Linked DNA regions of Homo sapiens: region 1 is linked to region 2. The links are contacts of gene promoters, found by promoter capture Hi-C in blood cells and fetal thymus (Javierre and others, 2016). All regions are on one chromosome and are shown on one strand. Each heading gives the region's core, a stretch centred on a gene start or on the middle of the fragment in contact. The rest is flanking DNA. Distances are from core to core; before and after follow the strand shown.

Evidence for each region. The method cuts DNA at HindIII sites, captures the fragments that hold promoters and counts their contacts. A CHiCAGO score of 5 or more calls a contact.
Region 1: the fragment with the promoter of FUS here is called in contact with a fragment that was not itself captured in region 2 in 1 of 17 cell types (fetal thymus); the score reaches 11.8 in fetal thymus.

The regions. Positions count from the first base shown.
Region 1 is chr16:31,178,344-31,183,134 of GRCh38, reverse strand. It overlaps FUS (FUS RNA binding protein), which reads right to left and starts at 2,996. Exons shown (of 15, transcript NM_004960.4): 1 at 2,908-2,996; 2 at 713-737; 3 at 471-622. The coding sequence starts at 2,920. RefSeq lists enhancers at 1,721-1,770, 1,871-1,930, 1,961-2,050, 1,476-2,236, 2,237-2,998 and 5 more and silencers at 2,281-2,330, 2,451-2,600, 3,241-3,310. The HindIII fragment of the contact is 6,651 bases long and covers 1-3,020 here.
Region 2 is chr16:27,547,926-27,552,251 of GRCh38, reverse strand. GTF3C1 (general transcription factor IIIC subunit 1) reads left to right here and starts at 2,339. Exons shown (of 37, transcript NM_001520.4): 1 at 2,339-2,582. The coding sequence starts at 2,362. It overlaps KATNIP (katanin interacting protein), which reads right to left and starts at 2,108. Exons shown (of 28, transcript NM_015202.5): 1 at 2,075-2,108. The coding sequence starts at 2,081. RefSeq lists enhancers at 2,243-2,352, 2,363-2,442. The HindIII fragment of the contact is 177 bases long and covers 1,549-1,725 here.

The DNA of each region.
Region 1 (4,791 bases), core at 1,747-4,246, 3.6 Mb before region 2:
TGTGCCACAATGCCCTGTAAAGGACTCAGATCCCAAAAAGTTTTAAGACTTATACACTGTTTCACGGAAAAGAAATATGGAACAGTTTCAACATCTCAGTGCTGCTCAGGTTTAAGAAAAGCAACATTCAGGGCATTGTGGCTGACGCCTGTAATCCCAGCACTTTGGCAGGTCAAGGCAGGCAGGAGGTCAGGAGTTCCAGACCAGCCTGTCCAACACGGTGAAACCCCATCTCTACTAAAAACACAAAATTAGCCAGGCGTGGTAGCAGGTACCTGTAATCCCAGCTACTCAGGAGGCTGAGGCAGGAGAATCGTTTGAACCCGGTAGGCTGATGTTGCAGTGAGCTGAGACAGCACCACTGCACTCCAGCCTGGGCAACAGGACCAGACTCCGTCTCCAAAAAACAAGAAAAAGAAAAGCAATATTCAGAAAGAGTAGGAAGAGGTGACCCGCTGAGAAAGACTCACTGTTCTGGCTCTGGCCATAAGAAGAATAGCTGCTCTGGCCATAGCCTGAAGTGTCCGTGGACTGGCTATAACCACTGTAACTCTGCTGTCCGTAGGGCTGACTGCTCTGCTGGGAATAGCCCTGCCCGGGCTGGGTGGGGTAGGCCCCATAGCTAAATAAAAGGAAAACCAGCGTGATCAGAAAACATGGCGTGACCACCCTTGCCCTCTACAAACTCTGGAAGCCCAAAAATAGCACTCACCTTTGGGTTGCTTGTTGGGTATAATCTGCAAAAGAAAAATACAATCACATTATCTTCAGCTGCCACTCTGAAAGAGTTGAATTAAAGCTAAATTCCTTAACTCAAGCACTGATGAATAAAAAGGACCACGTAGGCCAGGCACGGTGGATCATGCCTGTAATCCCAGCAGTTTGGGAGGCCGAGGTGGGTGGATCACTTGAGGTCAGGAATTCGAGACTGGCCTGACCAACATGGTGAAGCCCCATCTCTAATAAAAATACAAAAAATTAGCCGGGCATGGTGGCGCACGCCTGTAATCCCAGCTACTCGGGAGGTGAAGCAGGAGAATCGCTTGAACCCGGGAGGCAGAGGTTGCAGTGAGCCATTGCACTCCAGCCTGGCAACAGAGCAAGACTCCATCTCAAAAAAAAAAATAAAAATAGGACCATGTTGCAACAAAGGGCATAAAATTCCTCCATGAGACACTGGTTGAGAAGAGGAACAAACTGGCGTTATCAGCCAAGTGTTCTTACAATAAAGAAAAAGTGAAGAAAATGCAAGTTTCTACAGAGTCCCAGAAGCCTTAACCATTGGAAAAACCAAGGTCTTGGTGGACATCCACAATTTTCTGCAAGCCCAATTCATGTCAGTGATTGCTCTAAAACATCGCGCATTCGTTTCATCCACTCTATGAGAAAGCCATTATCGCCAGGAGTCAAGAGACTAACTCTCCCAACGTCGCAGAACTACCAAAGTGGCACAGGTTTGAATTCGAACAGTGTTCAGATTGTGGCCTCTGCTCTCTCAGCCCAGACCCACAGAATAAGAAAGTCTCAAAAAAGGCCATTCTTCACTCTTTGACCAATCCCGGAGATGAAGTGGGCTTTTTAGTGCAAAGCCAGAGAATCAAAAGAGCCCTTGGACCCCAAATGACAGAGATCATGCAACTGCTCGCCTTAGGAGGCGAAAGTCAACAGGTACTCGAGTCCCCAGCCCTGGGACTCCAGATGGTTCCGTTTTCTCACCTACCCTGCCTTCCCCCAGCGAACAAAAAGCAACAAAAGCGCTTTTGAAAAGCCCCACTTAAGATACACGAACAAGATCAACTCATCCTCCCAGCACAGGAAACGCGGCGCTTCCCCCGCAGGAAAAGGGAAAGAGGACCAGGAGAGGGTGTGGCCTCGGGCGGCCGTTCTTCTCCGTCCCTATCTCAGAAAAAAGAAATTTAGACCAGGCGTGGTTGGCTTACGTCTGTAATCCCGACACTTCGGGAGGCCCAGGCGGGCGGATCACCTGAGGTCAGCAGTTCGAGACCAGCCTGACCAACATGGTGAAACCCCGCCCCTACTAAGAAACACAAAAATTAGCCGGGCTGTGGTGGCGGGCGCCTATAATCCCAACTACTCAGGAGGCTGAGGCAGAAGAATCACTTGAACCCAGGAGGTGGACGTTGCAGTGATCTGAGATCGCACCACTGCACTCCAGCCTGGGCGACAGAGGAAGACCGTGTCTCCAAAAAAAAAAAGAAAGAAATTTAGGCGGGAAAAACTCTCGGGCCGTCCCCAAGTCCGTTGGTCGAACCCTGACCACCGCCGCCAAACCGTTAAGCTAGAGGGCGGCCCCGATCCCGAGCCTCCGCCCCCAGCCGCGTGGCAACCCAGGCGGGAACGGAGCGATCCCGCCCATTCGCGAAGGACCACTGAGGGACAAGGCTCACACCGGACGCGCGCCGCCGAGTCTTCCGCGAAGGGTCTCGCGACAGAAAGCTGAACCAACACGAGGCGGGGAAGGGGTACCCGCGCCGCGAAGGGGGAGGGGCCCGCAGAGCGCGTGCGCGCCGCGAGTGCCCGGATGCAGCACTGCGACAAAGCGGGCTCGAGCGCGGGGCCGGGAGTTGGGGGAGGCGAGGCCACGGAGAATGGGCGTTTTCCACCCTCACCTGACGCTTCAAACCCCTAAGAAGCGTCCCTCCCAACGCCCACCCCAAGCAAACGGACTGCAAAGAAAAGACTTCCCGCCCCGCGCGCGAGGGCCAGAGGAGCGAAACAAAATGGCGACACCAGCCTCCTCCAGTTACTCTTCTCCGCGGCTTCCCGCCACAGGGGCGCCAAAAAATCCCACACGGGATCGCCGCCCCGGTCCCACTGAAAACGAAAAGCCCAGCTGGGAGGCCTCGGCCGGGTGCGCCGCCGCCGTCGCCTCGCGCCCTTACCTACCGTTTGAGGCCATGTCCGCGCACGCGCGCACAGGCAAGCAAGCAACGAAGTTCCAACACCGCTGAGTACCGACGCCTGGAGGACTGAGCAGCCCCGCCTCCTGCGTCGAAGCTTAAGTACGCTCCGCCGCCTACGCACCGCGCAGGCGCGCACCAAACGCGGAAGAGCAGGGGGAGGCAGGAACGCACTCCGCCCCCTTCGTAGGGCAGGTAGAGGGTCCGAGCAGGCAGAAGGGAAACAAGTTAACTAGAATCATGCGAATACTATACATAATCATATTTTTTGAGGAAGAACCCCTCTCTCCTCGGCAGGACTAGCCCACGATCTATCTCCACCCCCATGAAGGCACAGTGGTACGGCCTGAGTGCCCGCTGGGGGCGGGGCGAGGGGGCGGTCCCGGCGGCTGGGGACGAAACTGGAGTCACAGCCGGGAGTAGCGGGGTGGAACCGAGATTCCTGTGGCCGGGCCCCTTCGCTGGGCCCCGCTTTCACCCAGGATGGCGAGCTCCTGCCCTCCACCCTCTTGCCGCTGTATGGGGCGCCTCGTCCCCGCGGCTCCAGCCTCCCTCGTCGGCAGCACACTGGCCCTCCCTCTCCTGCGCCCTGAGGTTGACTTCGTCGTCTTTCAGGGTTGCCTTGCCTTTCGGCCTTTCTGGGGTTCGGGGATTATGACGTTTGACCTGAAAGACAGCAGGGATTTCGGCCGGGACCCCTGGGCCCCGGGCTCGTCCAGCACTGGGCTCTCACCCGGATCCTCATGGCTTTGCCCCTGGGGAGCCACGGGGCGGAACAGCCCAGGCCATCCTTGGGACCAGAGAGGGTTGACCTCAGATGTACGGTACCCAGCCTTTTCTCAGGGACCTCCTTTTTATTTTTCTGAAGCCCTACCAGGGCGATCCCAGAAATAAAACGTGTACAAGGCTTAAGTGGTTTCAAAATGCACAGATAATTTCCTTGTCATCAGTCTTACGAAGGAAGTAAAGATACCTCCGTTTTCTAGATAAGGAAAGTGAGACTCAGAGACCCAAGTAATTGTGCCTGATTACAGGGCAGCTAAGAGGAGTCGTGATTCGAATCCAGGTCTTGTAACTGCAAAACACTCCTCTTTTTGGTGGCATGAATGCTAGAGTGTTTGGTCGCCTTTTCACTTCCTGTGAGAGCAAAAGCAAAAAGAAACATTCAAATTAACTTGCAACTTGCACTTTCATCAGCCTTGCCTGGAGAAGGCAATTTGAAACTACTGAATAAAACAAGACAAAAGACGTTAATTCCTGATACATAGGCATGCAGGTTTTCCTTCCCAACTTAACCTTTCAGCGGGATTTCAGAAGGTCCTTTGAGGGTTGGACACGTCTTTCTAGAGAAACAATGAGGGCCATGCCCTGGGCCCGCCCACAAATTAAGCCCCACTAAGCCCTTGACTTCAGCCCTAAAGGCCCTGAATATGCCAATATCCACCCCACCGCCTTTGGAAGGAGAGTTCAACTCTCCAGTGAGAGCAAAAGAAAGGAAGTCCACCCTTATTCATGCATTAAGTCACAAATATTTATTTAGCACCTAGTATGTTCCAGGCACTGTTCTGGGCACTGGGTATGCATTCGTGTACAAAGCAGATGAAGTTAACATTTAATAATAAAGCTGACCGGGTGCGGTGGCTCACGCCTGTAATACCAGCACTTTGGGAGGCCGAGGCGTGTGGATCACGAGGTCAGGAGTTCGAGACCAGCCTGGCCAACATGGTGAAACCCCGTCTCTACTAAAAATACAAAAATTAGCCAGGCGTCGTCCGCGCATCTGTAATCCCAGCTACTCAGGAAGCTGAGATGGGAGAATCGCTTGAACCCAGGAGGCGGAAGTTGCAGTGAGCCAAGACGTGCCACTGCA
Region 2 (4,326 bases), core at 388-2,887:
TTCATACACACCAGCCAAAACAGCATAACAAAAAACAGTTTGAATCCTGAAGCAGAAATGAGAGTAGTTTTTTCTATTTCTATTGAATAAACTTGAAAAAACATAAAATAATGCTACTCTTCCTATTAATTTTTTGGAGGCAAATGTAATTGTTTTCCATTAAAAATATTATTTATGTTCAGAAGTAATGGGTTTATTGTTGTTGGAGTTTTTTTGAGACAGGGTCTAGCTATGTTGCCCAGGCTGGTCTTGAACTCCTGAGCTCAAGCAATCCACCCACTTCAGCCTCCCAAACTGCTGGGATCACAGGTGTGAGGCACTGCACATGGCCAATTATTATTATGATTATTATGAGCCACTGCACCTGGCCAATTATTATTATTATTATTGGGTTTTTTTGAGACAGAGTCTCGCCCTGTTGCCCAGGCTGGAGTGCAGTGGCAAGATCTCGGCTTCAAATGATTCTCCTGCCTCAGCCTTCCAAGTAGCTGGGATTACAGACATGTGTCACCACGTCCGGCTAAGTTTTAGTAGAGACAAGGTTTCACCATGTTGGCCAGGCTGGTCTCGAACTCCTGACCTCAAGTGATCCACCTGCCTTGGCCTTCCAGAGTGCTAGGATTACAGGCACGAGTCCATGCCCGGCCCAATTTTTATTATTTTTAAAGGAACTAATTAATGGACATCTTAAGATTTTCCCAGTTTAAATCTTCGATATGGTAAATATCATAAATATAAATAAACAAAGCTCTTTGAGGTAAGAGCATACAGGGGTCCCAAGGCTTAAAAGGTTTGAGGACTGATGTTCTATAGCAACATTACATTGACCTTTCCAGAAGGCAAAATGGTAAAGCACATTTTATAGTACCTCTAAAGTACAAAGGGAAAAGATATATTTTAAGCATATGACAGAATGTTCAATTAAAAACATTTTCTCCACACTACATTCAGTGAATATAAAAAGAATGTGGATTCCCCAGGAACAAATTCCCGAGAAGTGAGGGACAGTGCTGTAATTAGAAAAATGATCTGGACTCTAGCCCAGACCCTACCAGTCTCTCTAGACTTTAGTCTTCCCATCTGCAAAGTGAGATATCAGAATAGCCTATTTTCCATTTGCTTCCAATTGTCAATACCATGACTCTAATCAGGGATCCCTAAATGGGGGCCCACAAGCTGTCTCTGGCCTTCAGAGTGACTGGCCAACCCTGTTTTTGAGAAGTACCCCAAGAGGACAATCAGCTGGTGCTTGGTGAGCAGCTTTCCTTTCAGGTGAGGAATTGATTTTCAGTTACAGCCTCAATCCGGCTCACTAGACTCTCCTCTGCAGACATCTGCATTTACAACCTCTGGAATAAAGGGACCCTCAAAACCGGTCCAAATCTCAAGCTCCATAATTCAGCTCCAGAGACAGGGTGTCTGGGTTTCTCACTCACTCTGCTACATGCTGGTTGTTTGACTTTGGGCAAGTTCCTTAACACCTCTGAGCCTCAGTTTCATCATCTGTAAAATGGAACAACGCTGAACTCAAAAGGCTGGTATGAAGCTTAGCGAGGTGTTGCCCAAGAGTACTTACAGAGTTCTTGGTACTGGAAAGCACTTTGTTAAAGGGAGCTATTATTATTAACGCCAAGGCACAGAAAGGGAGTATTTCCTAAACTCCCTTCACCCCCCACACCAATTCCCTTTCCCAGCACCTGACGATTGCACTCCCACGATCAAGCTTGTTTTCATATCAACTCCCAAATCCGACAGTTCCACATCCCAACATTCACAAGACCCTCCTCAGACCTCTACTTCTCCTTCCCCACCCTACATCCCTTCACTGAGCTCCCGGCCAGTACCGGTTTCCTTCACGACCACAGCCGAGCAGAATGGTCACAGCACTGACCACTCCCCCAGGCTCTCCTCCGCGTTCCAGACCACTAAGCCTCCCTATCCCTCATTTCGGAGACCCCCTTGGGTCAGGAAGTGGTGGTCCAGGGGTTCATGGCCTAGGATTCTGCCCAAAGCGCGGTCGGGAGGGATGGGAGAATAACAGCCCGACCTCCCGGAGGGGCCCACAGACACTCACCGTCCATCCCTAGAGGCGGCGGTTCCGGGAGCTCGAACCGGAAGCGGCCTCTACACTGTTTGCAGTTCCCCTGGTTACTGCGGGGCCCCGGACCAATGACGGTGGAGCTCCACTTACTGAGCCCGCCCCCGGGGAGTGACGTCATGCCGGCGCGCTGGAACTCCTCCTCCGAACCCTGGGTCTGACCCACCTCCCCGGGCCCCGGATCGTTGTGCGCAGGCGCGATGGACCAAGGCCCTTGGCGGTGCGTTGCGCATGCGCCCCGGGCGCCGCCGACTGAAGTAGCAATGGACGCGCTGGAGTCGTTGTTGGACGAAGTCGCTCTGGAGGGGCTCGATGGCCTGTGTCTGCCAGCGCTGTGGAGCCGGCTGGAGACGCGAGTGCCGCCCTTCCCGCTGCCTTTGGAACCCTGCACGCAGGAGTTTCTCTGGCGGGCCCTCGCCACGCACCCGGGCATCAGCTTCTATGAGGAGCCTCGGGAGCGACCCGACCTACAGCTCCAGGACCGGTCAGCGGGCGGCCTGGCCTGGCGGGCGGGCGGGCGGGCGCAGGGCCCGGGGGCTGATGGAGCTGGGGGCAGGGCGGGGGAATGGAGTGGGGCTGTGCAAGTACCGGAGGCCTGTTGATTGAGTTGGGGCACGGCGGTAAGGCTAATCTGGGGTCCCTCAGGCCTGGCAGGGCCCTGGAGTCCGATGGAGTTGGCGGGGGGAGGGGGAGAATCTAGTGATGTCCCGTTTTGTCCCTGTGTGTGTTTTGGGGTAATGGCGAACAGGATTGGGGATATTCTTCAGGCTTAAAAGAATGTTTCCTTTACATTGGAGGATAGGATTAGAGCAGGAAAGACACTTTAGAGCCAGACTGGAGACTCCTGAGATCAACAGACCCTCATGGTATATTCATTCGGTGCAGATAGCCTAGGGCAACTCGAGATCTGCGTATCAGGACAATTAGCGATAATGCTAAAAGCTGACATTTATCAGGGACTTCATGGGTGAGGTGCTGTTCTTTTTTTTCTTTTTTGAGATAGAGTCTCTCTCTGTGGCCCAGGCTGGAGTGCAGTGGCGCGATCTTGGCTCACTGCAACCTCCGTCCGCCTCCCAGGTTCAAGCGATTCTCGTGCCTCAGCCTCCTGAGTAACTGGGATTACAGGCATGTTCCACCACGCCCGGCTAATTTTTGCATTTTTAGTAGGTATGGGGTGTCATCATGTTGGCCAGGCTGGTCGCGAACTCCTGACCTCAGACAATCCGCACCTCTCGGCCTCCCAAAGTGCTGTGATTACAGGCGTGAGCCACGGCGCCCGGCCACATTGCTGTTCTAAGAATCTATTCTAGAAGCTTTAGGAGCTTAAACTCACTTGATCCTCACTTGATTAAACTCCGTTAAACAGGAGATTAAATTCACTTGATCCTCACCTATGAGGTAGGTGCTGTTATCGTCCTCATTTTACAGAGGAAGACACTGAGTCACAGAGAGGGATTATGTAACCTAAGGTTCTGGGGGCAATAAGTGACTAAGAATTGATTTGAACCCAGGCTATTTTCAGCGTCTGTGCTCTTAAGCCATATTGTGAGGGTCAGGGGAGGTTCCAAGAGGTAATAATGTCCAAGACAGGCCGGGTGCAGCAGCTCATGCCTGCAATCCCAGTACTTTGGGAGGCTGAGGTGGATGGGTCACAAGGTCGGCAGTTCAAGACCCGCCTGACCAACGTGGTGAAACCCTATCTCTACTAAAAATACAAAAATTAGCCTGGCGTGGTGGCGCATGCCTGTATCCCAGCTACTCAGGAGGCTGAGGCAGGAGAATCACTTGAACCTGGGAGACAGAGGTTTCAGTGAGCTGAGATTCAGCCATTGCACTCCAGCCTGGGTGACAGAGTGAGACTCTGTCTCAAAAATAAAATAAAATAATGTTCGAGACAAAACTTAAAGGTTGGATTTAGGCAGCCAGTTGGCAAAGAGGACTGTTGGACAGAGAACAGCAAATGTGAAGTAAGTGGCTGAAGTGTGGAATTGGAGGTAGGGAATGAGGAATAGCTAGGACTGTGCTAAGATCCTTAATACAACATGTTATTTAATTTTTACAGAAACCTTAGGAGATGGGTAATATTCTCCCCATTTTCCTGAAGAGAAAATCGAGGCCCTGAGGGGTCAAGTGGCATGCTAAAAGTCAACTAGCAAGGGAAGAACCCAGACTTTGAGGAAGGTCTGAGTTCAGATTCCAGCCAAATTGGACTGGAATCAAGTCTTTTA